5 separate regions of the Homo sapiens genome follow, and all the other regions are linked to region 3. The links are contacts of gene promoters, found by promoter capture Hi-C in human tissues and cell types (Jung and others, 2019). All regions are on one chromosome and are shown on one strand. The core of a region is centred on a gene start or on the middle of the fragment in contact, and the rest is flanking DNA. Distances in the headings are between cores, read along the strand shown. Region 1 has its middle 18 kb from the start of NODAL. Region 2 has its middle 12 kb from the start of PCBD1. Region 3 holds the start of ADAMTS14 (ADAM metallopeptidase with thrombospondin type 1 motif 14). Region 4 holds the start of PALD1 (phosphatase domain containing paladin 1). Region 5 overlaps SGPL1 (sphingosine-1-phosphate lyase 1).

What was found. Contacts are between HindIII fragments. The study calls those that stand out against the background at their distance.
Region 1: a contact is called between a fragment that was not itself captured here and the fragment with the promoter of ADAMTS14 in region 3, in 2 of the 25 tissues and cell types used here (adrenal gland and lymphoblastoid cells).
Region 2: a contact is called between a fragment that was not itself captured here and the fragment with the promoter of ADAMTS14 in region 3, in 2 of the 25 tissues and cell types used here (psoas muscle and spleen).
Region 4: a contact is called between the fragment with the promoter of PALD1 here and the fragment with the promoter of ADAMTS14 in region 3, in 5 of the 25 tissues and cell types used here (heart left ventricle, liver, mesenchymal stem cells and 2 more).
Region 5: a contact is called between a fragment that was not itself captured here and the fragment with the promoter of ADAMTS14 in region 3, in 2 of the 25 tissues and cell types used here (heart right ventricle and thymus).

The regions. Positions count from the first base shown.
Region 1 is chr10:70,456,460-70,462,461 of GRCh38, forward strand. It overlaps a transcript of PALD1 not described here. Among named protein-coding and RNA genes, the nearest start is that of NODAL, 18 kb to the left of the region's middle. The HindIII fragment of the contact is 6,583 bases long and covers 335-6,002 here.
Region 2 is chr10:70,897,813-70,903,395 of GRCh38, forward strand. No RefSeq gene overlaps it. Among named protein-coding and RNA genes, the nearest start is that of PCBD1, 12 kb to the left of the region's middle. The HindIII fragment of the contact is 4,003 bases long and covers 2,253-5,583 here.
Region 3 is chr10:70,669,819-70,675,337 of GRCh38, forward strand. ADAMTS14 (ADAM metallopeptidase with thrombospondin type 1 motif 14) reads left to right here and starts at 2,688. Exons shown (of 22, transcript NM_080722.4): 1 at 2,688-3,066; 2 at 4,738-5,177. The coding sequence starts at 2,985. RefSeq lists a silencer at 1,275-1,569. The HindIII fragment of the contact is 21,684 bases long and covers 1-5,519 here.
Region 4 is chr10:70,477,517-70,483,359 of GRCh38, forward strand. It overlaps PALD1 (phosphatase domain containing paladin 1), which reads left to right and starts at 1,251. Exons shown (of 20, transcript NM_014431.3): 1 at 1,251-1,543. RefSeq lists silencers at 867-936, 1,137-1,586 and enhancers at 2,581-3,223, 2,867-3,046, 3,224-3,865, 5,359-5,843. The HindIII fragment of the contact is 10,532 bases long and covers 1-3,480 here.
Region 5 is chr10:70,873,802-70,879,003 of GRCh38, forward strand. SGPL1 (sphingosine-1-phosphate lyase 1) reads left to right here. Exons shown (of 15, transcript NM_003901.4): 13 at 1,601-1,747; 14 at 2,740-2,860; 15 at 3,394-5,202. The coding sequence ends at 3,534. Among named protein-coding and RNA genes, the nearest start is that of PCBD1, 12 kb to the right of the region's middle. The HindIII fragment of the contact is 9,714 bases long and covers 1-5,202 here.

The DNA of each region.
Region 1 (6,002 bases), core at 2,376-4,875, 210 kb before region 3:
TATTCTTGCCTACTCCTGCCCTCCCACCCCACCCCTCAGCTCCGTTTTTCTGTCCTCTCTGTCCCTGTCCGACCTTTCCTTCCCCACTGGAAGATCTAAGGTCACATACCCTTTCTCTGCCTGTACCTGCCTCAGGTCCTGAGCTGCCCCATCAGGGATGGTGGGGTCAGTAACAAAAATTTGGAGGGACCCACCCTGCTGGGAAAATCGTCCTTGATGGGAAAGTGCAGCCAAGGAAACTCCCTGAGGGCAGAGGTGGGGGAGCAGGAGGGTTGTTTAAATTAGTACCAGTTAGGCTGGGGTATGGGGGGCAGCACACCTAGGTCCTGCTCCCAGCTCAACCCTGACCAGCACATGACCTTATTGAGCCTCAGTTTCCACATCTAGGATGATTCCTAGCCCTGTCGCCGCACTTGACTGTCCTATGCTTGGTGGAGCTCTGAGGCCAGCGGGTGGAAGTGTCTCCTAACATTCAGGGCCTGTACAGTTTCTTCTCCCTCTCCTCTACCCACTCTTTGATGAAATGCAGCCAATTCCCACACACCCCCCTGCCCCCCTCCCCTGCCTGCTTAGTTCTTATGTATTGTGCTATTGTGCTTTTTTTGTTTTTTTTTTTTGTTTTCAGATGGAGTTTCACTCTTGTTGCCCAGGCTGGAGTGCAATGACGCGGTCTCGGCTCACTGCAAACTCCACTTCCTGAGTTCAACCGATTCTCCTGCCTCAGCCCCCCAAGTAGCTGGGATTACAGGCGCCTGCCACCACACCGGCTAATTTTTGTATTTTTAGTAGAGACAGGGTTTCACCATGTTGGCCAGGCTGGTCTGGTCTTGAACTCCTGATCTCAGGTGATTCACCCGCCTCGGCCTCCCAAAGTGCTGGGATTACAGGCGTGAGCCACCGTGCCCATCCCGTATTGTGCTTTTTAAACACAAAATGAATGCCTATTCGCTGTAGAAAATTTGCAGACTATATAACGGTATATACAGGAAGAGAAAAATCCCCTGTAACCCCATGATCTAGATATAACCATGGTTAATATTTTGGGGGTACATTCTTCCTGTCCCCTGCACTTAGGTATTTATGTGCACATGCATTTATGTGCACTTAGAAGATTCACACAATGTGAACTGTTCTGTAAACTACTTCTTTTATGAAACCAGAACATCTTTCCGGGCCATAAAGCATCCTCTCCACTACCATTTAAAAATAAACGTTGGCTGGGTGTGGTGGCTCATGTCTGTAATCTCAGCACTTTGGGAGGCCAAGGCAGGCAGATTGTTTGAGCCCAGGAGTTCGAGACCAGCCTGGCCAACATGGTGAAACCTCGTCTCTACTGACAATACAATAATTAGCCGAATGTGGTGGCAGACACCTGTAATCCCAGCTACTCAGAAGACTGAGGCAGGAGAATCGCTTGAACCCGGGAGGCGGAGGTTGCAGTGAGCCGAGTTCTCGCTACTGCTCTCCAGCGTGGGCGACAGAGGGAGACTCCGCCTAAAAAAAAAAAAGTTGCTTAATTCTTTAGGCTTCCTCCTCCAGGAAGCCAGCCTGGAGGATTTCTCCAGCCCAGTCAGCCTCTCTCAGGGTCCTTACACCGTGTTCCCTGTTATCCACCTTCTCTTAGACTGTGAGCTTCCAGGGGACAGAAGCCCCCTCTGGACCCTTTCACTCAGTGCCCGGTGTACGTAATAGATGCTTAATAAATGAGGCTGGAAAGGGTACTTTTCTTGATTGCTGTCAGCAGGAGGAGGCTGAGGCAGAGGAAAAGAGCACTGGACTTGGAGTCGGCGTGCCTGCCTGCCTGCCTCTAGCTTCGCAATCTTGTTTGCAGCGAAGGGGCATAGTGGTCTGTGCGGCGCGGTGCCCAGTCCCGCCCGCCCCGCCGCGCCTGGCCGGGCGCCTGGCACAGCCCAGGCGCTCAGCGGAGGCCCCAGGCATGGCAGGACCTACGGAGCCCGGTGAGGTGAGCGCGCCAGGCCGGCCGGCTGGGCTGGAGGCAGAGGCCCAGGCGCCCGCCCTCGTGGGAAAGCGCGCGGAGGGCGACCCGGGTGAGTCAGCCGAAGAGCAGACGGGCTGCGGAGCAAGAAGACCGAGGCTGGAGGCGGCAGTGAGTGTTCCCGCCGGGCGGGTGGCGTTGTCGCCGCCAAGGGGGACCCGCCCCTCTCCCCTGTTCCCCGCACTGCCGGTCCCGCCGCCGGGGCCGGGACAAGAGCCTAGTGAGACAGAGACGCTCCGGCGCGAGCTCCTGCCCAGGCCCTGTGGTCGGGCGGGGTGGGGGTTACCCAGGGCTCTGCCCTCAGCGGGATGTGTCCCCTCCCATCTGTCCCGTCCCCTCGCTGGGCTTCTGTCCAGTGGCCTCATTCTGTTGCTGCTGGTGGGAAGGGTGGGATGTGCCTGCTTGGTAAATTGTGGGGCGCCACCAAACGCGGGGGGCCCCCATTTGGTGCCAGGCGAGGCCTGGTGCGTGGGCAGGAGAGTCAGGATGGGCCCCGCACACCATCACCGCCTTACCGCGGTGCTGCACTGCTAAACCAAGGGATTACTGCTGTTCCTGGGCTCAGGGAGAGAGCGGCTCCCCCACCTTTATCCCCCGCCATCCGCCCACCCACTGCTTCACCCTTCCCCCATCCCACCCCACCCCACTCCAAGCCCCAGGGAGCCCGGTTTATAAGAGCCACTGCCACCGTTTGTCCATCGCTCACTGGGACGCTGCTTTGTGATAAACATTTTGCACAGTTACCTCAGTTAGCCCTCCCGCTGGCACTATACTGACGGCTCCCTTTTCAGATGAGGAACCGGGGCTCGGAGAGGTGAAGTCACTTCTTCAAGGTCACTGCAGTCAGAGGCGGAGCTGCCCTGAGGCTAATTGAAGCTTAAGTTTCAGACCCTTGCAAGGCCCGGACCTAATTTTTGCATTTGTATTTTTGTGTTCTTTTCCTTTAAAAGCCCCCTCCCGCGACAGTAGGAGGGTCAAGCCCCTTCAAAATGGATCTCTCTGACCGTGCCTGGTCTGTCTGCTGTCCTCTGTGGCACTGCCTCGGATGGGTGGGGATGGGGGGGTTGCTGGGGCTGGGCAGTGCCAACCTGGCATGGAGGGAAGGACGTCCAGATTTGGTCAAGGGGCCCACATGACCTTTGCATGAGTCTTGGCAGACTCCAAACAGCCTGCTGTGCGCGGAGCCAGCTTAGGCAGAGCCCCCGCCTTGTGACGTTGGGATCTTCTCTGGGACTCAGCTGTCCTCATCTGAGTTAGGGGTGGTTATTATGGGGTAACTGCAGACACAAGGTGAAAGTGGAAGGAACAGAGGCTGGAAAGCTCGGAGCCCTGCCTGTCCTCCGTTCCCCCACGTACTCCCCCTCAGCCACCCCATAGGTGAACGCCACTCTGCCCTGTGCCCTCATCTTCACAGCCAGCCCTCTCCCCTCCAGCTGCCGCACCTTCTCCACAGCAGTTGTCCGTGGTGCCTACACTCCCCGCTTCACGGTCACCCTTCACCCGGTTCCATTGTGTGCCTCCTGCCTCCACCCACCATGGCGTCTGCCCTGGCTTGGGTTGTATAGGAGAGACTCCGTGTTACCAAATTGGCTCCAGCCCTGCCTGGCCGCACAGCAGCCTTTGACACGATTGAAATGCTCCCCACCTCTTAGCTTTCGTGCGGCTAAGCTTCCCTTCCGCCGTCTGGGCCCCTGCTCAGTCCTCTTTGTCTTCTGAGCCTCTTCCCCCTGCCCCAGGCCTCCCCTCCCCTCGAAGCCCGCCCTCCAAGGCTGTGCTTCGACTTCTCTTCTCCCCTGCGGTTACTTGCCTCTCCTGGAGGGTCTCACCCATCCTGGGGCTTAAAAGCCACCAATGCCCATGGTGCCCGGCCTTTGTCTACCCCAGACCAGTCCTCAGAACTCTGGACCCCTGCACCCACCGGCCTACCGTGCGTCTCCCGTGGGCTCCCTCACAGTCATCTCCGGCTCCATTCATCAAGACTGAACTCCTCTGCGCCTTCTCCAGCGTTCTGTCTGCAGCCAAGCCCCTGATTCCTGATTCCTTCCTCCCTCAACACCACAACATCCAACCTCATACCAGCCATGTGGATCCCACTTCCAAAATGGCTCTCTAGAATCCACCTGCTCCTCCCCATCTCTTCTGTCACCACCTGGTCCCAGCCACCATCATCTCTCTCCTGGACAACTGTGGAGGCCTCCCTGCCTCCACCCTGGCCCCCCAGAATCCACTCCTCTCAGGAGCTAGATGGGATGGCATCACTCCCCTCACTGAAACCCTTCAGTGCCTCTCATTGCCTGTAGGATGAAATACAAGCTCCAGGCCGGGCCAGGTGGCTCACGCCTGTAATCTCAGCACTTTGGGAGGCCGAGGCGGGCGGATCACCTGAGGTCAAGAGTTCAAGACCAGCCTGGCCAACGTGGAGAACCCCGTCTCTACTAAAAATACAAAAATTAGCCGGGCGTGGTGGCATGCGCCTGTAATCCCAGCTACTTGGGAGGCTGAGGCAGGAGAATCACTTGAACCCAAGAGGCAGAGGTTGCAGTGAGCTGAGATCGTGTCATTGCACTCCAGCCTGAGCAACAAGAGCAAAACTTCGTCTCAAAAAAAAATAAAAGAAAATACAAGCTCCAGAACCCCGGCCTGCGGGCCTCAGCCCTCTGGCTCATTGCTGTGCAGCTGCAGCAGCCTTCTTTCCGCTTCTAGAGTGTGATGTGAGTGTTCCCATTGCAGGGCCTTTGCCCCTGCTGTCTCCTCTGGCTGGAATGCCCTTTCTCCCACTCTTTGCCTGGCACACATCTAATTAGCCTTCAAGTCTTAGCTTAAGGGATGACCTCCTTGGAGAGGCCTTCCCCACGAACCCCTGTCACACTCCCTAGGAGTACCCCAAGTACTTACTGTCAGCTGGAATTATGTCTTTATTTCTGGGGCTATGGGTTAATGTCTGCCACCCCCACCAGATGGCAAGCTCCACAGGGCTGTCTGGTTTACTGTCTGTGTTGCTCTGCCTCTCCCGTGCCTAGCACAGTGCCAGGCACACAGTCAGCACCCAGGAAACACGTGTGAAGGAAAGGTGTGGAGGCCCAGCTGCCAAAGTTGTCCTGCTGCCATCTGTCCAGCAGATGGCCTCCCAGACCAGAGCTTCACCTCTGTAGATGGGTACCCATAGCAGTCCTCAGATTCCAGAACAGCTCCTATGCAAATCCCGGGGCCCCCACTTGAGATCCACATGGCAGATGTGGGAGCCAGGCCATGCCCTCTTTTGTCTTCAGTCCCAGAAAGCCCTTGGCACTTGCTTTTTTGAGATTTACGACTTGGCATTGTGATTTTTTTGTTTTTTGTTTTTGTTTTCATTTTTGAGGCAGGGTCTCGCTCTGTCACCCAGGCTGGAGTGCAATGGCACAATCATGACTAATTGCAGCCTCAACCTCCCTGGCTCAAGCCATCCTCCCACCTCAGGCTCCCGAGTAGCTGGGACTACAGGCATGTGCAATCATGCCCAGCGTATTTTTGTATTATTTGTAGAGATGGAGTTTCACCATGTTGCCCAGGCTGGTCTCAAACTCCTGACCTTGAGCGATCCGCCCACCTCAGCTTCCCATAGTGCTGGGACTGCAGGTGTGAGCCACCACCCTCGGCTTGGCATCATGATTATCTACCTGCATGTCCTACAAGGGGACTAGGGGCAACTCAAGCCAGAGACCTGATCTCACCTGTCTCTTTTTCCTTGCTTGCGCAGAGCTCAGAAAACAAATGACTAGTAGGGAAACTGAGTGACTCAGTCAGTGGAGAGACTGCTCCTGGAAGTTAACATTAAGGCTTTGGAGCCCCATTCCTGGGTTCTACTCCCGGCTCTGGGGCTTCCTAGTTGTGAGGCTTAGGCGAGTTTCTTAACTAATCTATGCCTCCCCTGTAAAGTGGGAATACTACGTGCCTCATAGGATTGTTGTGAGACTTGAATGAGGAAATACATGAAAAGTCTTTTTTTTCTGGTGCCTGGCATGTAATC
Region 2 (5,583 bases), core at 3,004-5,503, 230 kb after region 3:
ATGAAGGATGAAATTCTGATACATTCTTTTTTGTGCAATTAAAAAAAGTGATAGTGTATTTATCATTGAATATGTTACATTATTAGGAATATTTCTTGGCCAGGCACATGCTGTAATCCTAGCACTTTGGGAGGCTGAGGTAGGTAGATTACTTGAGGTCAGGAGGTCAAAACCAGCTTCGCCAACATGGTGAAGCCCTGCCTTTAACAAAAATACAAAAATTAGTCAGGCGTGGTGGCGGGTGCCTGTAATCCCAACTACCTGGGAGACCGAGCCAGGAGAACTGCTTGAACCCAGAAGGTGGACGTCGCAGTGAGCCAAGATCTCACCACTGCACTCCAGCCTGGGCGACAGAGTGAGAACCTGTTTAAAAAAAAAAAAAAAGAATATTCCTAATAAGAGGGACCATCTATTTTGACTAGGTATTGATGAAAATGAAACTGTCTGCTGAGAAATATTGCACACCTGATAACTGGGAGAATTTTCCAGAGGTCTGATGCCAGCTCTGTACATATGGAGCCTTGTTTCCCTGCATTACCCATCTTTCTCTGCCAGAGGCCATGGGACATATCTTATAAGTGTGTATATTCCTAGAAGGCACTTCTATAACCATGATGGCTAGCAACAACTTACTTAGATATGGTAGTGACAGAGAATGGCATAAATGTATCCCTCTAAACCCAAATGAAGTGTATCCTCAACACACCTGGCCCTCTACCAGATCTGTAAACACGCCCGGCATCTACTCTGATACCACCCAACGGGAGGGGTGTGACATGGGGAAAGTTGGAGTGGAAAAACAAACTGGGCCTGACCTATTCACTGGGCCTACACTGAAAATATCTTTCTTTAGAAAATTTTGCAAAAACATATGACCATGTTGGCTCCTGGGTGGGACCCATTCAGGTGAAAACCCCTGAGGCTCAGGCTTTATTTGCTTCCCAGGAATCCCACTCCTGCCTGGGAGCCTTCACTGCTGAACCTGCCCGATTCCTGCCCACCCTATAGGTCTCTTTCCTCAGTGCTTCATTTCCTTTTTCCCTTGCTCCTGAAGGGTGAAGAATGACACATCTTTGAATCCCCTGGGGCATCTGGAAATCTGCCCTGCACTTAATACCTTCTCAACAAATGTTTCCCAAATTCATGTTTGTGTATTTCTGCGGGGAGCTGAGATAGCTACTCAGCACCATGTAAACTGTATTCAAGAAATATTGTTCAACAGTGACAACCCTGAAACGCTAACATTTATGTAGTATAATCTTTTGCCAGGTCCCACGCTAAGGATCTAAAAAGGTTTGTAAAAGCTTTGTTTCAAATCATAGAAGGAGCATGTGCTGATAGTAAAAAAAGAAAGAAAAAAAAGGGTGGGCCCATATGGTTGGTATAAAGAGAAAGGTAAAAATCCCCTCTGCCACCCCGCTCTGTACCCACCCCAGGTCGCCAGGCGGAGGTCACCACAGCCTCTGGAGGCAGCGTCTGCCCTGAGGTCTGGCTCTTCTGCTTGCTTAATTGTGGGATCTTGAGCAAGTTACTTAACCTTTTGCAATATCAGTGTCCTCAACTGTAAAATGGGGATAATAACAATAGCAGCCTTGTGGGAGGTTGTAATGATTAAATGAGACATTTCATGTTGAGTGTCTGGCAGTGCCCCCTGTATCCTCTCAACCCCACCCTGAACATGACCTTCAAGAGCAAGACTTTGCCCTCTCTGCCTGGGGAGGCTCCCTGCCCATCGAAGATGCTCTGCCCACAAGCTGGACAGGCTGCAGATGACAGGGAGTTAATACCCTACTCTCAACCAATGTAGGATGGGGGTTGGTGGATACGTATCCACTTCCTTATCCCTTGGTGGAAGGATTCTGGTGTGTTTACACCGTCGCTCCGAGGGTCCCCAGCAGGACTGAGTGATAACCTGCTCGTTCGTGCTTGCTTACTCGGCTCTCCTCCCTCCCCATCTAACCTGCTGTTTTTTTTTTTCTTAATTCAAGGTTGTCCTTTTGTTATTGGTTTGTAGAATTACAACCCTTTGTTGATTATCTATGTTGTAAATATTTTCTCCGAATCTCATTTACTTTTTAGCTTAGTGACATAAAGAAATGTTTAGTTCTTAGATAGCCCAGTCTGCCTGACTTTTCCTTTACAGTTTCTAGACTTATGTCTTGCTTAGGAAGGACTTTCTCACCTCAAGATTAACAAATAGCTGTGTCTCTATTGCCTCTTAGTACTTTTTCAGTTGGTAAAAAGTTGGTAAAAGATTTGTTAATCTCTTTGGAATTTACTTTTGGCTATGATGTGAGAAATAATAAGAATAAGAAAAGTAACAATTATTTTATTTCCAAATAGATAAACAATAATCTCATACTATTTTTTAAATACAAAGAATAGGCCATCCTTTCGCCACTGATTGGAAATGCTACTTTTGTAATATACTAATTTCCCATAATCCCCATAGCTTGGTTTCTGGGTTCTTTGTTCTGTTCCTTTGATCCACCGACTCCATCCTGTTTTAATTTCTCTAGCTTTATAGTTCATTTTGATATCTGGTACATCAAGTCCAATCTCATTTTTCTTCTTCAAAATGTTCTTGCCTATTCCTGCTTGTTTACTCTTTCAGATGAGCTTGAAAATCAGCTTGTCAAGTTCCATAAAAATCCCTTTAGGATTCTGATTGTGAATGCATTGAATTTATAGATTTAATTTGGGAAGAATTGACATCTTCATATTATCGGGTCTTTCCATCTTGGAGTGTGATATATCACCCCATTTATTCAGGCCTTCTCTATGCCCTTCAGTAAAGTTTTACTGTGTTCCTCATGCAGGACTTGGACATGTCTTGTTCAGTTTATTCTTAGGTGTTTTATAGTCAGCGTTGGCTGCTATGCACGGGATGATTGCTTCATTACATTTCTAATTGGCCTTTGCAGGTATATAGGAGAAGTGTGGATTTTGATGTGGTATCTTGTCTCCAGTCATGCTGATAAACTCTCTATTTAGTTCTAATATTTGTCAATGGATTAGAAAAACTTTGAACCAGTCATGCTGTCGCACACAGGATGGGCCTCCAGGGAAGGGGCAAGGAGCTCCGCAGTCCTGATGGCCGCTATTGAATCCACGGATCCTGTTAGGGCTGCTGTAGAGACTGCCGTGCATATGGTTCAGAGCTTTGGACAAGACAGCCTTTAGATCCTTTCCCATTCTAAGCTTCTAACATTCACAATTCCGGTGCCTGTCTGCTTCATGCACTATCTCCCAGTTGCATAACGACCAAAGCCAAGTTCCCTTCCTTCCCTCCCTCCTTCCTTTCCTTCCTCAACTATACTTTGGTTTCTACCTGCCAAGCTGTGTCAGGTTCTGGGAAGGTGGGGAGGGAGAGATCACGATGATTGCTGCAGAGATAAGTGCTCCACACCCTTGGGATGCAAATGATGTTACTTAAATCGCCTCAGACTAGAATGTGGTAGAACCCCCGTGCCCCGCCATGGGCTGGATATACAATCTACACTTGGGGGGCTACCCCGCCTCCTACCCCACCTCCCTAAGTGGTTCATGAACCCTAGGGTTTGCCCGATCCCAAAGGAGGGCTTCCACTCTCAAGGAACCCAGAGCCACGCCGCCTCTCCCCACTGCTGTCCTTGCCTTTGCCGCGCAGGGTGCCGCCATCAGGTCCTGTTGTGCTTCTGCTCAGGGAAAGTCTCCCAGGCTCCTGCCCAGGGGTGGCAGCTCCCTGAGCTGCCAGCCTTCTATGCAGGTGCCCCCAGGGAGGGCCCCTATCCCTCGGCAACCAAGACTGCTCCTCAGGGGCCCTCTCGGCAGTTCTCCCAGGGCATCTGCCCCACAGCCCGTAGATCAGGACAGCAGGGTCAGGCTCCTGCCTCATGAACCTTGAAACTGGCCCCTCTGGTCCCCTTCCTGGGCCCACAGAACTGCCCAGGGCTGCTGGTCCCCTCCCTGCACCCCCGGCTGTTTCCACCCATCTCTCACAGGGGGCTGTGATGATTGCCCATCAGAAGGGCCCAGAGTGGTGGCTTTCCATCAGGGTGGTAGTGAATTTTTTCCCCCAGGGGACAGTTGGCAAGGTTTGGTTGTCACACTGGGGATGGCAGTGCTGCTGTCATCTAGTGAGTGCCAACCAAGGAAGCTGCTGAACATCCTATAGTGCATGGGACAGCCCCTCACAAGGAAGAGCTGTTCAGCCCCAAATACCAATAGTCCTGAGGGTGGGGCCCTGGTCCACTGTAGCACTGGCCAATAGAAATATAATGGGAACCACAAATGCAGGCTCCGCATGTGAGTTTACACTTCCCGATAGCTACTTTTTTTTTTTGACATGGAGTTTCACTCTTGTTCCCAGGCTGAGGTGCAATGACACAATCTCGGCTCACTGCAACCTCCGCCTCCTGCATTCCAGCGATTCTCCTGCCTAGGCCTCCTGAGTAGCTGGGATTACAGGCATGCGCCACCAGCCCTGGCTAATTTTGTATTTTTAGTAGAGACAGGGTTTCTCCATGTTGGTCAGGCTGGTCCCGAACTCCCGACCTCAGGTGATCCACCCACCTTGGCCTCCCAAAGTGCTGGGATTACAGGCATGAGCCACCGCGACTGGCCAGATAGCTACATTCTTAAAGAGTAAAGAGAAATATATGAAATTGCTTTTAATTTACTGCATGTTATTTAATCCCAATATATCCAAAATGTTATGATTTCAACAAGTAATTGATATAAAATTGAGCTGTTACATTCTCTTTTTTCATATAAGTCTTCAGAATCCACTATGTATTTTACCCTATGGCACACCTTAATTTGAACACTAAATTTTTATTGGAAACACTTGATCCGCATTTATTTTTCGTAAAATTTATGGTTGAAAAAGTAGATTTACATGTCAAATTGTTTATCAGTGTTTAAATGTAAATTAAAATGAATTGAAATTAAATAAAATATCAAAATAAATTCCTCAGTCACAGGGCATATTTCAGGTTCTTAGTGGCCACAAGTCACTAGTGGCTACCCTATTGGGCAGCACAGGTCTAGACATCAGAAATGGTAAGTTCCAGTTTCCTCCTTAGGGAGGCAGAACCTGCCACCTCTTCCTCTCTGATGGGCCAGACTGCCTTCCCGTCAGAGAAGGGCAGAAGGAGCTTTTGGCAATAGTGGTAGAGACTCAACACATGACTTCAGTTCTTAGTGTGTCCCTGCCATGCTGAGAACCAGTGTCTTCTCTCAGGGACCTTCTGATCTAGGGAAGGAGATGATCACACCAATGCTACAGGTGACAAGTGCTCTAACAGAGGCCGTGAGGCCAGGCTGCAGTGGAGTGACAACAACTCTACACATGGGAAGCACTCACATTGGAGGGGGTGCTTAGAGTAAGCTTGAAGATTCATTAGGAGCTGGCCAGGCAGAGGCAAGATTGGGCGGGGGGGATGACCCGGATGGGCACCCGGGCAGAGAAGGTGGCTGAGCAAAGGCCAGCCAGTCTGCGAGGTTGTGGCGTGCTCCTCTAAGTGAAGACCTGAGAGCACTGAAGAGGTTGGAGAGGCTCATGGCGACAGGCTCTGCATGGTTCTGTGTAGGTTCCCCTGG
Region 3 (5,519 bases), core at 1,438-3,937:
TCAGGGTCAAATCCTGGGCCGTTGCCCAAGCCCCAGCCCACTCATTACATCTGTTTCAAACTCTTGCCACAGTCACCTTTTGGGGATAGACACCTCCACTTTGTCTTTCTGGCCTACCTGTCACAGGAGCCTTCCATGGGCTCTAGCTAGTCCAGCCTTTTCTCCTCCTGCCTGGGAGGCTCATGGCAGGCCGCCCCCTCCTGCCCATGCTCGTGCCATTCCCAACCAGGAACACTGCTTCCTCTCTGTCTCCCCTGTGGAAGCCTCAGCTTGGATCCACGGCAGTGAAATCTCCCTCTAAGCTTCTCCTTCCCAGAGTCCCCAGAGTCCCTGGGGTCCCCCCTGGCGACCTTGCATGTTCATTTAGAGCACATTTCTCTACCCTTTCCTTACCTGGTTTTCAGACTTTCTCTTGCCCATGTCAGGTTTCTCAATTGCTTGCTGGCTTCATGCAGCCAACACGGACTTTCTGCATCCCTCTCCCCCAGGGCCTTAGACTGAAACTGTTGTGTTGGGTGTTGGGAGAAACACCTAAGACATTCTCTCCTGCGCGAAGACTCAAGGAAGACACTGGGAAACCCAGACCTTGACTTCCTAGGAGGGTCCCCAGCTTACACCTGGGGATTTCTTCCTTTGGCCCCATTCACCTCCAAATCTGGGGCCACCTTGCCCTCTCCCCACCTTCTGGCCCAGACTCTGAGCTAGGCCCCCATGTCCCCTTTTCCTAACAAAGCCTTCCTCCATGGAAGAGAGCTTGGACACACAATACTTGCCGATAAAAGCAATCATTGTAGCCCCAGGGAAGGGGGCGGGGGTAAAGAAACGGGGAGAGGTTTTGCTCTCTGCTTGCCAAGGCTGGCTCCAGGGAAGGCCGCAGCCCACTCCAGCGAAGCAGGCTGCTGGGGCCCCAGCTGTGACCTGCTCCTCTTGACTTGCTTTCCTTGAGGCAGGAACAAGGGGGTGGAATGGAGCTGGGGCCCCTGAGTTTTCTAGGGGAGTCTTTCTGAGATGGCCCCACAGCAGAAAAGGGGCAATCCTTACGCCATGACTTTTTCCTTCTGTCCCGCAGGGTTCCCACTCTGCAGCTTGGAAAACTGAGACCCTGAGAAGGGAAGCCATTTTATCCAGAGATCATTTGGTGGGCTTGGGTTTGCAGAGGGCCAGAGCTGTGAAGCTCCAGCCTGGTCATCTCCCAGCCTTCTCTCTCTCTCTCTCTTTCTCTCTCTCTCTCTTTCTCTCTCTCTCTTTCCTATCTCTCTCTCTCTTTCCTCTCTCTCTCTCTCTCTCTCTCACACACACACACACACACACACACACACACACACACACCCTCTAACTTTCTTGCTCTGTCATCCCTCACACACAGAATCCTGTCTGGACCTTGACTTTGCACATCATTTTTTTTTTTTTTTGAGACAGGGTATTGCTCTGTCACCCAGGCTGGGTACAGTGGTGTGAGCTGAAGCTCAGCTCACTGCAGCTTCAGCCTCTCAGGCTAAAGCAACCCTTCCGCCTCAGCCTCCCAAAGTGTTGGGACTATAGGCGTGAGCCACTGCACGCAGCCAACACACATCTTAAAAGACCAGAAAGAGGAGAAAGAGGAACTCTATTCTTCCTGAATTTAATATAGATCAATTTGGTTGTGGCATTTCCAAATAACTGGATGCTCTGATGTAGCTTGGAATGCTTGGAATATAATATACTTTAGCTTTCTGAACCTGCTTCTTAAATGCACTGGTCCTCCAAAACCTTGGCATCATTTCCAAGATTCTTTATTCCATGGTTATTACAAAAAAATCTCCTTTCCACAACTCCCACCCCTGGATTGCTTGAAATATAGTTTATTTGCAAGTTATTAGTTACATATTTACAGAGTAAAGCAAGAGCATGGATCTTCTGTTGGGTTGTTTGTACTGACTCCTGACCTGGTCTCAACACCATTGCAAGACTAGCATCAAGTGCTCATCTCTCAGACTCTTGGTTCTTTCCACCTTGGGATGCCACAGTTGCTACTGGTGTCAGGGATGGAAGTGGAGGGCAGTTATCACTTATTGAGCATCTATTATGTGCTGTAGTTAACACCCATTTCACAGATAAGACAACTGAGGCTCAGAGCTAGGATTTCAATCAGGGCTGTCTGACTCTGAAGCCAGGGCTCTCTCCTCACCGGCTCAGCCCTGCTCTTGGCTAGGACACAGGTCAGTCGTGCACCCTGGGCTGGAGTCTGGAAAATGGGTAGATCCAAGGGGTCGATGGTTAGTGAGGGCATCAAGACCATAGTGAAAGAAAGAGGGAGTCTCCCTCTACCGGGAGGTTCACTGTCCACCACACTCCCAAATGCAGCCGGACACCCCTTGGGCTCCTGGCTCTGGAACAGAAACAGAGAGCAGGCCCTGCGGCCAAGAAAGGGGGCGGAGCAGCCATAGAAAGCGGCTTTGGGCCACCACTCCGGGGATCCCAGGCGTCTGAGGGGACAATCGGTCCGTGCGCCAGGAACCCCTGCTCTGTCTCCGCGTGGCACTTCCGATCCCCGGCCGCAGGCAGCTGCACTCCCCAGCCGCGCGCCCCGCCCCCGGGCGCCCGGCGCCCCAGCTCCGACCCGCGCCCGGCCCCGCCCCGCCCAGTGTGCCCACCCCCGGCCCGTCCCGCCGCCCCGTCGCCCGGCTCCCGCGGAGTCCCGGAGCGTCACTGCGCGGGCGGGCTGACCGACCAGCCGGCAGTTGGCACCGGGTGCGCTGGCGCGTCAGTGGCCCCGCTCTCCAGCCGGCAGCCTCGCGCGCCCGGAGCCAGCGGTCCAGGCGGCGGCGCCGCGCAGGGGACCCGGAGCAGGCGGGAGGGAAGCAGCTAGGCGGGGAGGCGGCTGAGGCGGCAGCGGCGGCAGCCAGCCGGTGCTCCGACAGCCCGGGGCGCACCCTAGCCTCGCCGCCCTCAGCCTGGGACTTGGGGATCGGGCGCTTGCCCAGCCCGCGTCCCAGCGCGGCCACATGGCTCCACTCCGCGCGCTGCTGTCCTACCTGCTGCCTTTGCACTGTGCGCTCTGCGCCGCCGCGGGCAGCCGGACCCCAGGTGCGTGCGGGTTGGGCGCGCGGGGGCCCGTGGGGTCCGGGGTGCACGCGGTCAGGGTGGCCCAAGGTTGCCCCAGCCACCCGGGCAGGGTTCCCGCGGGTGGGAGGCAGTATGCACACTCTGGGCTGATTTGCTGTCTTTTCTTCCACTGTGCCACGGCACTGTCCCGTGATTTCTCTCCCTTTCTGGTACTAGAAGTAGACAGAGACCCCAGGAGAGAATTTGGGAGCATCGAGTCTCTTCTCGGGAGCAGCGCATCTGTCTCTTTGTCTCTCTGTGTTTCTTCTTTCCCCTCTTCCCCAATCTGTTTCTCTGTCCTGTGTGTCTTTCTCTTTCAATGTCTTTTCTGTCTCCAACTTGTGTGAGCATGGGTGCAAGGGGTGTGTGTGTGTGTGTGTCTGTGTGTGGCTGTTACATACCCAGCATAAGGCTAACAGGTGATTGCCTCCTACAGCAGAGCATGCGGGGCACTCACGCTCCTGCACAGAAACACACATCCTTCCACTGCCCCCAACGTAGCACTGTCAAACGCTGTGGACACAGGTCTCTTGCATACAGACCAGATACACTCCACTCCCGCCCTGCAGCATGGGGTACCCTCCTGGTGGCTCTGAACATGGGGAGGAGTCACCGGTCATTTCCAGGCAGGGTCCCTCCTTGTTTGTGAGCCTTGTTCATGTGCCAGAGTGGGTCCCCTCTTGCAGCAGTCTTAGGGGTCCTCTGCTATAATGGGGATGAAACTAGAGCTGTGGGCATGGGGGATTTTCAGGAAACACCACTTTCTATGTTTCATCAGTGACGTGAACTGGGGAGACGAGAGGTAGAGCTGTGTGGAAATGAAAATTCCTCCCAAACTCGCATTCATGAATCACCAGGCCTGGAAGCCAGGGAGCTGTCATTCCTGCCCAGCCTGGCTGGGCTCAAGGAGAGCTGCGTGAGGATGGGCCTGCTGGCATGTGGCCTGGAGCATGGGGCCATGACCTCACAGTTAATTCAGCCCAAGTGGGCAGGTCACCCCCTGTATATCCTTTTATTTTTGAAGATCTATATTTATCCAGCTTGGGGCTCGGCCATACAGAGATCTCAGCGGCCACTGTCCTCCTGTAAAAAGTTTTCTTTCTAACCTTGGAAAAATAGAGAACCGCTCCCCTCTGCAGCCCCACCTTCTCCTTGACACGTGCCCATGGTCCCCTGGGTTTCTAGGTGTGTTTGTTTTGCCAGCTGCGTTCTTGGAAGTTTGGGGAGGAGGGCACTACCCCAGCCTGGGCTGGTGACTTCAGCACACTGGGGAGTTTGGGCAGATCTGCCCTTCCCTTTATTTGCCCTGTTGGCTTTTGGGGAATTTTAGTCCTTTTCTGGGCAGAGCCCAAGGTCGGAAGTCTTGTTGCTAGTGACCGGGCTCTGTCTGGTATCATTTGCTTTCTTCTGCTAAGTTTAAAAAGGACCTGGGGGCTACAGGGAGTGCCACAAGGTACCCGAACACCCTTCATCCAAGTGTAGGAATCCTGGAGCTCAGGAAGCAATGGATGGAAAATGGGTGAACTCAGGCTAAGGGGCCCACCTAAGGGTGACACTGAGAGTTCCTATCCCTCCCTGCCCGCGTGGGATTTCTGACTTCCCCTTACCTCTGAACCGACTGCATTGAAGTGACTCTTTGTTTACCTCCAACAGAGCTGCACCTCTCTGGAAAGCTCAGTGACTATGGTGTGACAGTGCCCTGCAGCACAGACTTTCGGGGACGCTTCCTCTCCCACGTGGTGTCTGGCCCAGCAGCAGCCTCTGCAGGGAGCATGGTAGTGGACACGCCACCCACACTACCACGACACTCCAGTCACCTCCGGGTGGCTCGCAGCCCTCTGCACCCAGGAGGGACCCTGTGGCCTGGCAGGGTGGGGCGCCACTCCCTCTACTTCAATGTCACTGTTTTCGGGAAGGAACTGCACTTGCGCCTGCGGCCCAATCGGAGGTTGGTAGTGCCAGGATCCTCAGTGGAGTGGCAGGAGGATTTTCGGGAGCTGTTCCGGCAGCCCTTACGGCAGGAGTGTGTGTACACTGGAGGTGTCACTGGAATGCCTGGGGCAGCTGTTGCCATCAGCAACTGTGACGGATTGGTAAGGGATGAGACTTTCATTAAGCTGCATCCTCCCCCTCCCATGCCCTGCTCACATGGTTTTGAGATTGCTATGGGCATGTTTTGCAGTCTGGGCCAAGGCAGGGGTGGTGCTGCCTTCCAGAGGGAGTGCCGCCTGCCCCCGCGGGCCACTAGGTTCATGCGCTGCCAGGTGTGAAGTGGCCAAGTTGGGATGATGTTCACCCCTCGCCTTCCATGGACCCAGCTGGATCACAAGCTGTTTGGCTGGTGTTTCTGAGTGCAGAGAGACACTGGGGTTGGAAGTGTGGCTGAGCCACTGCCTAGCTGTGAGGATTTGGATGAGTTAACCTCTCTGTGGTTC
Region 4 (5,843 bases), core at 1-2,500, 190 kb before region 3:
TGGAGCTGAGGACAAGTCTTCCCTGGGCCTGTTTCCTCATTTGTTAAAATAGGGATCAGAAAAGTACCGACCTTATAACTTCGCGAGGCACTTAAGAGCTAGGTGCTAGGGACATGGTGAGACCACCACAATGAGTGATTTCTCTTGTCTTCAGTTATTCTTAGGGGTCATGGGGAATGTGTTCCCCTCTCCCAGCCCAGCGCTCTCCAGCCTGACAGAGGTGGGGCCTACACTGCCTGCATCCTGGGGCAACCCCAGCTCGCCGAAATCCAGCTCCAGTCCTGAATGGGGGTGAGGCAGGTGGTAACAGGTGAGAAAAAAGGATTTCCCGAGTGTGGAGCAGCGAGAGGGAGGAAGTGACTCACCAACCACAACAAAGCCTATCTCTCCGCGAGGAAGCACAGCGAAGAGTGAACGCACGCACGTGGGTGCGTTCACCCACGTGCTCGCGGGGGCGTGCGGGGCCGTCGGAGTGGGCCGGGCTGGCTGCCGCCTAGTGCTAGTCCGCGCGTGTGGGGTGAGGAGTGGTGGGGGGGGCAGGCCTATGGTGCGGGTCACTGCCTGGAGCCGCATGATGGGTGGGGGCGGAGGGACCCCTCTCCATCCAAAGCTCTGCTCTGCTGTTCCCCTCTCACCTCTGGGGGCCGAGGGGCGCGTTTCCTTAGGACCCCGGGGCGTGGGAGAAGCCCCTGCTTGGGGGGACCGTCTGCTGTTTAGGGGCTCCCCTTCGACACGTGGGAGGCAAAAGTGCAGAGCGCACCATCATCCAGCTCCGGCCGCACTGCACAGCGAGGCCGGCCCGGAGCCCGGATGCTGGGCTCGGTCCCGCCGAGGCTCGGCCTGGCTGTAAAGCAGAGGGGGGCGAGGGAAGCCGGGCCAGCGGGTGTCGCGGGTAGCCGGCGTCCGGGACGGGGTGTGGCGCCCAGAGCGCTGCTGCCTCTCGCAGCCAGGAGGCTGGATGTCGGGTTTGGGTGTCTTCCAGAAGGAGCCGCACTAGCGACGAGGGAAGAGGAACTGGCTTCCCGGGCAGTCTCCCCCGCCCCAAACTTTTCCTCCTCGCGGAGGGTGGGCGGGCGGAGGGAGGAAGCGCAGCCGGGGAACGTGGCGCCCGCGTTCCTCCCGCCCGGGGGCTGCGGCTGGGCTGAGTGTGTCTTTAAATCTGAGCCCCCCGCCCCTCGCGGTGGGGCCGGGACTCGCGGTCCGGGCGGGGGCGGGCGCGGTGATTGGCGGCCGGGTCGGGTCCGCCCCTCGGCGTTGGGTAGCGGGGCGCTGGGGAGCAGCGCGGCGCGCACGGGCCGGGGCGCGCAGGTCCCGTCGCCGGTGAGCACGGGCTCCCTCTCGCGTGGCCTCGCCGGGTCCGCCTGGCCTGCCCACCTCCGGAGCCACCTCTGCCCCCGCATGGGCTGGCGAAGTTGGGAGGAGCGAGCTGGAGCCAGAGCGCGCGCCGGGCGCGCCCCGTCGCTGCCTGACTCGGCGCCCGCAGTTCGGGCGCAGCACGCCGGCCGCAGGAGCACGGATGCCCCCCGGAGCCGCGGGCTGGCAGGTACCGAAGTGTCCTGCCCTGGGGCTGGCGAGGGGAGGGCAAATCTGGAATCCCCCGGGCACCCCCCAGCCCGAGGCTGCTCCAGACACCAACTCCCCATCCTTTGGAGAGGTGAGGTCCTGGGCCTTCACCCCACACCCGCTCAGGATTGGTCCCTGGGAGGCAAGAGGGACTCACAGGGAGCAGTTGCTGGGTGGTTGTGTGTGTTGGACCCTGGGCTACCCCCTCTCCCGAGTTCCCTGGGTTTGGTGTAGGCATGGCCTGGTGACAATTCCACTTTTCATTGCCAGACCTGGGAGCATGGCCAGGAGCTAGGGTTTCCCGCGAAGTTAGGGGGAGATTGGGGAGAGGGAAGCCGCTTCATGACCGAGATGGGGTCCTGGGACTCATCTCTAGGGGGCGTGAGGCCCTCAGACCCAGGACGAGTCCAGAAGTCTCAGCGGGCACAGGCTTTGATTCTTGGCCCAGTCTGGCCCTCTTCCTCTGTAGGCCCGGGTCTCCAAGGAGAGTACGTTTTTCAGTTTCAGAGGGTTTTCCTGAAGGGGCAGTAACCTGTCAGAGAGAGAGTGGCCTATGGGAGACCCGGCTCCTGAAGGTGGCCGGGATGGTTGGAGCCCTTTCTCTTGGGTTGTCAGAGATGGGAGTAAAGCTTCATGGCCCAGGGAATCTTCTGGGCATCTCTACTCTCCCAGCCAGAGGCCCAGGAACCAACTCCTTGGCTTCTGGGTAGAGTAACCTGAACCCAGTGGCCGAGCACCTCTTAAATGCCAGGAAGGGCACTGGGCCGTGCCCCTGGAATGTGTGGATGGAGGAGGATTTGGAGGATTCTGTCCTCAGGAGGCTCAGCCCCTGGGGGCAAGACAGGACATAAACACACAAAGTTCCCCGATACAGGGTTTCAATACCAGTCCTGAACTGGTAATAGTGGAAAGCCAAGAGGCTACACACCATTAATTGCTATGTGAGTAATGTAGGCTGCGAGAGTGCCAGGGCAGCAGAGATCCAGTTCCATGCAAGCAAGCAAATGTGCTGAAATGTTCCAGCTCCATGCCCGCCCTTCCTTATTACCTTGCTCCAAGGGCAGGGAGCAGCAGGGGCGCTGAGGAGGTTCTCCTGCACTCATCCCCACCCACTCCCAGGTTTGTTTGTTTCCTGCTGGTGGATTTCTGAAATAACCCATTTGGTTTCTTGGCTTGGGCTGAGCACAGGACACTCCTAGTTGCCCTGTGGCTCCTGGGGTTTGGGGTCTAGAGCCAGCCTTGTAGGAGGTTCAGAGGTAAGCAGGAGGAAGTCCTCACTTCCTTTCTGAAGAGCCTCTGTCGCGGGGGGTTGGGGTAGGTCGGGAGGCTGGCAGGCACTGGGCCAGTTTCCTATGAGTGCAGACAGACCCCAGGTGGTGCATGCACCCCCCTCCCTTTCCTGGCCAGTGTTGGGGGTGGGCACAGTAGGGCCCAGGTGGCTTGAGGTGGGTGGTTCCTGGCACAGCTCTGACCTCACTTCTGTGAGGCTCTGCTGTATCTGGGGCCCTGCCCCCTCCCTCATTGTCCCTGGCAGGTTTCTGTTTTTCTGGAGCACTTCGTGGAGGTGGCAGTGTGCTCATGCTCGTGGCCTTGGGTGCAGTTCTGGGAGTGGGAGTTGCTGAGCTCACCCGAAGCCCTTGGCTGGCACTGTGAGAACTTGTGTGAACACACTTGCCTGCCTCCAAACAGGTGGTGCACAGACCTGGGTTACCCAGGCACCTGTGGGGGATGCCCCGTGTGGGCAGAGACGTGAGTGCGTGTGTGTGCTCAGGTTTACATCTGTGTGGGCAGAGACGTAGAGGAGCTGGATACATATATACTTGAGGACAGACACAGGAGGATGGTGGGGGTGAGCAAACAACCCAGGGACACAGACATGTGCGGGGACAGACATACATGAACCCATCAGCGTGGGCCACGTATGGGCTGCAGACACGTACATAGAAATACACCATTGCTGGGATCTGAATCTCCCCACATGGGAGGCAGACATGTAAGTGGACAGACATATAGGTAGACCCAGCAGAGCACAGACGGGGATGGGAACCGACATTCCCAGACAAAAGACTCGGAGCCACAGGGAAGCCGCTCAAGTGCCTGGGCAGAATGGAGTTGGCTGTGAGCTCCTGGGGGGCACAGACACATATGCTTGCCAGAGCCAGCGGACAGCAGAGGCCAGGAACCAGACACAGGTGGGTTCTGAGAGGTAGGCCGAGGCGTGCATTGCCTGGTTATCACTGTTTCCCTGCGTGGCACAGTGCCCGGAAGTTGTCCTGTTTGGGGTGGTGATGGTACAGGTGCTCTGTGGTGGAGCTTATTTCTAGACTCTCACTTTGGGGTTTGAGGACCCCAAAAAGCTCAGTCTCCTGTGTTTTACTCAGAGTCATTTGGCCTCTCCACCTCTGCATTACAAGGCTGTGTTTGTGCCTTAAGTGCCAGCAGGTGCTCTTTGAATTTTGATTCTCATCTTCCCTGGATCTCCAGAGGCTTCCTGAAGTGAGGCTGTGTGGCCTGGGTAGGGTGCTCCAACTGTTCCTTTCCTACCAGAATAGGAGAGGAACTGTCTGGGGATTCTCCTTCTGAACCCAAGCCTGCGGGTCTTTGACAGGGATCCCCCAGGTGAGAGAGAGAGCACACATGTAGCTGCGTCTGTGATGAGAGCCACTGCCCTCTGGGGCGGGCTCCTTCTCTGCTAAGCCGTGGGCTTGCACAGGGAAGGGGTCCCCCACCTGGCTATGCTCAGGTCTCCTCTGCCCAACCTGGCACCTGAGAGACAGCCCAGATTCTAGATATGCTTTGATACTAATGCACCATGCAACCTCCAGCAAGTCAATTAATGTATTGGTTTCCTCATCTTTAGAGTGGGGTCAGTAACCTCTACCTCCTTGTGGGTTCAGTGGGAGAAAATCAGTGCAAAGCATGTGGCCCAGTGCATGGCATGGAGTGAGTGCTCAGTTGATGTGGCGGTGGGGGCCTTTGATTATGAGCCATCCCCTGTGGCCAGGACTCTGCAGGGCTTCCTCAGCAGCCAGGTGCATGGCCCTGGGCCTCTGGGTGAGGTCTGGAGCAGGCTGGGTGGGCCAGGCACCTCTCCTGTGAAAGCTGGAGGGCTTTGTCCTCAGTCGGTGCCCACTAGTCCCTCCTTAGCCCTGTGGGACCTCCATACACGGGGTCAGGAAATGGCAGGCTGGGCGGGCGTATGGAAGCTTGGGCCTGCTGACTGCTGGGCCTCTGGGAGGGGAGCCAGTGTTTGCTAAGAATAGTCCCAAATCATGGCTTTCGTTTCCCAGAGGGCAGCCCAGCCATGTGCTGCCCCTGTCTTGGGCCAAGGCACTTGCAGATGGACTTTTTATGTTTCCTGTAACTGGTGCTCAGCACAGGATTGAGCCTGGGAGCAGCAGGCTTAGTCTGGGAGGAGGCTCTGTTTGTCTTCCGAGGCCTTTGGCTGGGACCCGGGGAAAGAGAAGGTCTGGAAGCACTGGCCTTTATAATCCCTGAGTTCCTTTTCCACTCAGGGCTTTTCCTGACACATCTGCCTCGACCATCTTCCTACCTGCAAATAGACCTGTTGTGATTAAGAACACTGGCTCTGGAAAGAAACTACCAGGGTCTGAATTTCTGCTCCCTCCCTCATTAGCCATGTGGCCCAGGGCAAGAAACTTAACCTCTCTGTGCCTCAAGTCCCTTGTGTAACAGGGTTAAGGATAGCAACTCCCTTATGAGAATGTCACAAGGATGAAAGGAGGTAATCGCAGAGAGCCTCCGAGGCTGTCTGGCTCCTAGGAAGTACTCAGTAAACATTAGGTGCTTATGTTATTACCACGATGTTATTCTCTCAGCAGAGGCCAGGATGCTTGCACAGGACCAGTTGGTGGGAAGGGACCAGCGTGGCATCTTGATGTGGGTTCCTGAGCTTTCTTGGCCCTGGGTTCAGTATGAGGTGCAGGGGCTCCGAAGGTAGATTAAACTCTGTCCCTGCCAGGAGGTGAGTGAGGTACATGCAGACACCATGTCTGGTTCTGTGATGGGGTCTGTGCTAGTTATGGTTGGAGCCTGAGGGAGGGAATGGCTGGCCTGGGGTGTGTGTGATACTTCACGTGGGCTTTGAGGGATGGCCAGGAGTTTGCAAAGGAGGAGGGCAAGGCTTCCCCAGCAGAAAGAGCAGCGTGGCAGAGGTGTGACAGCCCTTGTGAAGCGTTTTGTGTATTTCCCATAACTGGCATGTGGGCTGACTTTGGCTTTAAGGGGTGCCCCTGCCTGGGCTGAAGCTGGGGCACTGA
Region 5 (5,202 bases), core at 2-2,501, 200 kb after region 3:
AGACGGGGGCCTCATTTGTAGTTTATCTCATCTCTATGGATGTCTTAATAACTGGCAGCTCTTACCCTAAGGCTAATGTACAATTTAATGGTTAGGACAGTGATTCCCAAACTTGAGCATGCATTCTAATCACCTGAAGGACTTGTTAAAACACAGGTAGCTGGGCCCACCCCTAGAGTTTCTGATTCAGTGGAACTGGGATGGGCTCTAAAAATTTCCATTTCTGGAGATACTGATGCTACTGCTCCAGGAATCATACTTGAAGAATCATTGGAATAAGAAAATAATTGGAAATGGGCCAGAAGGAATGAGGAAAGGAGGGCAATGAAATCTTGGGTTAAGCCAAGGCCAGAACAGGCTGCATGCTTTGTCTAATGTATCTGTTAACATCTTATCTGCCCATCTCTCTATGTGTCACTTGGATTGGGGAGGCTCTTTAAGTATATTGAGGGGGAAGGAAAGCTGCCTGCAGGCATTTCTCATTTGAGAAAGATCCTTGGCCAGGCACGGTGGCTCCGGCCTGTAATCCCAGCACTTTGGGAGGCCAAGGCAAAAGGATCGCTTCAGCTCAGGAATTAAAGACCAACCGGAGCAACATAGTGAGACATTATCTCTACAACAAATTTAAAAATTAGCCATGAGGCCGGGCGCGGTGACTCATCCCTGTAATCCCAGCACTTTGGGAGGCTGAGGCGGGTGGATCACCTGAGGTCCAGAGTTCAAGACCAGCCTGACCAACAGGGAGAACCCCGTCTCTACTAAAAATACAAAATTAGCCGGGCGTGGTGGCGCATGCCTGTAATCCCAGCTACTCAGGAGGCTGAGGCAGGAGAATTGCTTGAACCCGGGAGGCAGAGGTTGCGGTGAGTTGAGATGGCACCATTGCACTCAAGCCTGGGCAACAAGAACGAAACTCCATCTCAAAAATAAAAAATAAATAAAAATAAAAATTAGCCACATGTGGTGGTGTGCACCTTTGGTCCCAGCTACACAGGAGGCTTAAGGCAAGAGGACTGCTTGAACAGCCCAGGAATTTGAGGTTACAGTGAGCTATGATCACACCACTGCACTCTAGCCTGGGTGACAGAGCAAGACCCTGTCTCAAATAAATAAGCAAACAAATAAATAAAAATTAGATATATATAAAAGGTCCTCCTATAGCTCTGATAGGGCCATTTATTAAGACCTGCTATACCATTTCTTGCTTTAGGGATTACATATGACTTTTTAGAACTGTGGAGATGGGCAGATTACTTTTCCAGAAATTTTTTTAGTACATCTTTCATGCCTCAGAAGCATCTAGGGGAATATAATTGGGAGTTGGGTAGACAGGTTCGAAGTCAGTGATTGAGTCATTAGATCTAGATGGGGTTTGGGCCTTGGAATTCCATTTTTATTGTTCCATCTATGATTCTGATCTCAGTAAGAACCACTGATCCAGTGTAGCCCTCTTCTTTTTTGAAGATGAGAAGACTAAAGCCCAAAGGGTTAGATTGCATTCATTATAAGGAAGACTTTGAATGATTAAAGAGATAGTGACCAGGGGATTGTATGTGACTGAATTTACTTTTTCTTCCTTCATTTATTTTTTTGTTTTAAGACTGGAAAATATCAAAGGCATCTTTGTTTTTGGGAATCCCCAATTGTCAGTCATTGCTCTGGGATCCCGTGATTTTGACATCTACCGACTATCAAACCTGATGACTGCTAAGGGGTGGAACTTGAACCAGTTGCAGTTCCCACCCAGGTAAGCTTGAAGAAGCCTCTTTCCCTTATTTTGCTCCATGATTTTGGAAGAACTTGGGTGGTACAGTAACCTGAAGTATAGAGTTTGACTGCTAGAGGCTAGCACGTTAGTAGCAACTGTAGTATATAAAGGATTTCTCTCTTGCCACCTGGAATTATTAGATACAAAGAACAAGACCATTAGCTTTAAACTCTGGCAGAATTAGGTGACAGCCTCCTAGACCAGTGGTTGGTCATGAGGTTTTTCTCTCAGTCTCTAGCCTTTCTACTCTCCAATCCATCTTGTACACAGCCATCAAATTGCTCTTATAAAATACTTGTTACCTGGCTAATATTTAGTTCAAGATCTTCCTGGGGGTCTCTAATCATTCAGGCCTGCTACTGCCTTCTTTATTAGACTTTTCTAACCTAATCTTCCATGATGCCTTTGAGTAAATGCACCACTCCAACTGAGTACAGGTCTGTTCATGTCCTCTGTGTACAGCTTAGCCTTCCACACGTTGGTGCATTGCCAGTCCCATCTGGACTATCTTTTTCCCTCTTCACAATTCCAGTAAACCCCACTAAATTCCTCCAGGGCGAGGTAGAATTTCTTCTGTGCCCTGAAGTCCTTTAAGACCCCAGCCATGTGGCCCTGTCCCCATGAGAGCACATGGGGGCTGATTATCTAAGATAAAAGTGTCTCATTGATGGTGACGTGGTTGAAGGAATGGTGGTGGAATTTGTGAGGGGATGGGTGGGACAAAGCAGCCAACACTGTTCATCCTCTTAGCATGGTTCTCAGTCATGCCGAGAAGCTCTGAGGCCAGCCCATGCCTGACACCCCAAGCATGAGAGAGCCGAGATTCCCAGGACTAGGAACAACTTGGATGACTACACTTGTCAGAAATATTGTGAAAGGGCAACCAGGAAATTCCCGTATTTGGGGCTGCATCATTTTAGAACATTTTTTCTTTCTTCAAGGTTCATCTCTCTCTGTCTCTTCTTTCCTAGTATTCATTTCTGCATCACATTACTACACGCCCGGAAACGAGTAGCTATACAATTCCTAAAGGACATTCGAGAATCTGTCACTCAAATCATGAAGAATCCTAAAGCGAAGACCACAGGAATGGTAGGGACACTTGGAGTTTTTTTTCTTCTCTTGGAAATTTAGGTGTTGGTGGAGAGTTTGAAGGAATCATATGACCCGGAGTCTGTTCCTGCCTCTGCCCCTTTGCCACAGACATCTTTTATTTGTTGACTGGAGCTGATGATCTCTGCATCACCCACCCCTTAGGGTTGCTGAAGTCTCAAATGAGATACACTATAAAGTACCTTGTAAGTTAGAGACTTCTGTATAAAAGCAGCTGGTGGTAGTGTCCATTTGAAAAGAAAATTTTGTCACAGGAAAGATAGTAAACATGTTTTTTCTGGAATTTTCTTAGGCTAGTCCCTTTATGCAGAAAGGCAGACTGGAAAGTCCCTGTGAAAAATTGACTATGCCAGCTGTTTTTCTGATAGAATGATGGGATGCCTTAGGTGGAAATGGGGTAGGGCAGTGCACATGCGAAGCTAGGACTCGGGGAGAAGGGGCTCATTGCTGCAGTTTTATTCTTGCTTTTGGACCTGGCCTCACTAATAATGTCTCTTTCTTTGGATTTGTAGGGTGCCATCTATGGCATGGCCCAGACAACTGTTGACAGGAATATGGTTGCAGAATTGTCCTCAGTCTTCTTGGACAGCTTGTACAGCACCGACACTGTCACCCAGGGCAGCCAGATGAATGGTTCTCCAAAACCCCACTGAACTTGGACCCTTTCTAGTCTCAAGGGGATTCCAGCCTTCAGAAGGTTCTTGGGATATGGAACAGGCCGTGCACAACTTTGACATCTGGTCTTGCTCCATAGAGCACAACTCAAGATAGACCATGAGACAGCTTGAGCCTCAGGATTCTTGTTCTTCCTCTTATCTTCCTTTTGTGGTTTTTAATTTGAAGACCCCAGAGAATTCCATTACATAATGATTTTGCCCTTGTTATAAATGTTACCCTAGGAATTGTTTTAACCATTTCCTTTTCTAAACTCTCTAGCTTTCAACTTTACTTAAACATTGTGTGGTAGCTCTGACCTGTCCTGATTCTTTAGAGAAGCTGGGGTACAGTTTATGAGATAGCTAGAGCTTCTTTGTTATCTCAGGCAGGAGGCGTTTACATAACAGATGTTTCCTCAGCTGGGTGTGAGGTATACTCTAAGCAGGAGGCTTTTTCAGCCTTCTCTCTCTTTTTTTTTTTTTTTTTTTTTTTTGAGATGGAATTTTGCTCTTTTGCCCAGTCTGGAGTGCAGTGGCATGATCTCAGCTCACTGCAACCTCCACCCACTGGGTTCAAGCGATTCTTCTGCCTCAGCCTCCCGAGTAGCTGGGATTACCGGCACCCACCACCACGCCTGGCTAATTTTTCAATTTTCTTTTTCAGTAGAGACGGGTTCACCGTGTTGGCCAGGCTGGTCTTGAACTCCTGACCTCAGGTGATACCCGCCCCCCCGCCTCAGCCTCCCAAAGTGCTGGGATTACAGGCGTGAGCCACCGTGCCTGGCCCTGTCTCTCTTAAGAGTAGGTTCATTGTCTGTCTTAGAGTCACTTCTATTGCAACTCATTTTCTTTTTCCAGGGCACAGATCGACCAAGCTGCCGTTCCCTATTCTGCAGGACAGGACTATTCTAGCATACCTGCTTCGTCCACCCAGGCAGGGTTTGGGGTGGTCTCTTCTGTGCCTGCAGTCCCCATTTGACACTTGGTTGCCACCATCTTTGGAGATTATTGTTTGGAATGATGCTTCCATTGGCTTTTTCTTGTTACCATGGACTAGGAAGAAAACATGGTTTCCAAATAATCTGGGAGCTTTTGGCCATGGTGCCGCCTTCCTGAATTGGCAGTGGTCAGAGCACACCTGAACCCTATCCTGGGCTGGTGATGAGCAGAAATCAGACCTTTTTCTATGCTTTTTTGAATATCAGAGTAGGATGAACACCCAGATTCAAATATGTCACCAAAGTTGGTGGTGGTCCTTCCCTGCACCCTTGCGTTAAGCCATTATGTAATGAAAATGTGTTTGCTTGAAGGAACAGCTCAAAGCACCTTCACAAGTTGCCTTGACTTACCCTAGGTGGGTGTGAAAGAGCACCCGTAGCAAGGAAAATTTTCTCTATTAGTGTGTTCTTCTGCCTCTTCCCCCTTGATTCAGCTTTCAGAGGTACTATGGCAGTTTTGCCTCAGGTGCTGAACATTTCTCAGCCCTGGCTAAAAGGGAGCAGCACAGGGAGAGAAACAGGATAGGAAAGCAGAATGGCGAGCAGCCTATGGCCCAGGGCCTGTAATCCCTTCCCAAGACTAGCTGCTCAGGGTGGTGCAGGGACAGGACCAGACCCTGCGCCTATTTCCTGCCTTCTTTCCCCTATAGGGAACTCTGTAGGCTGA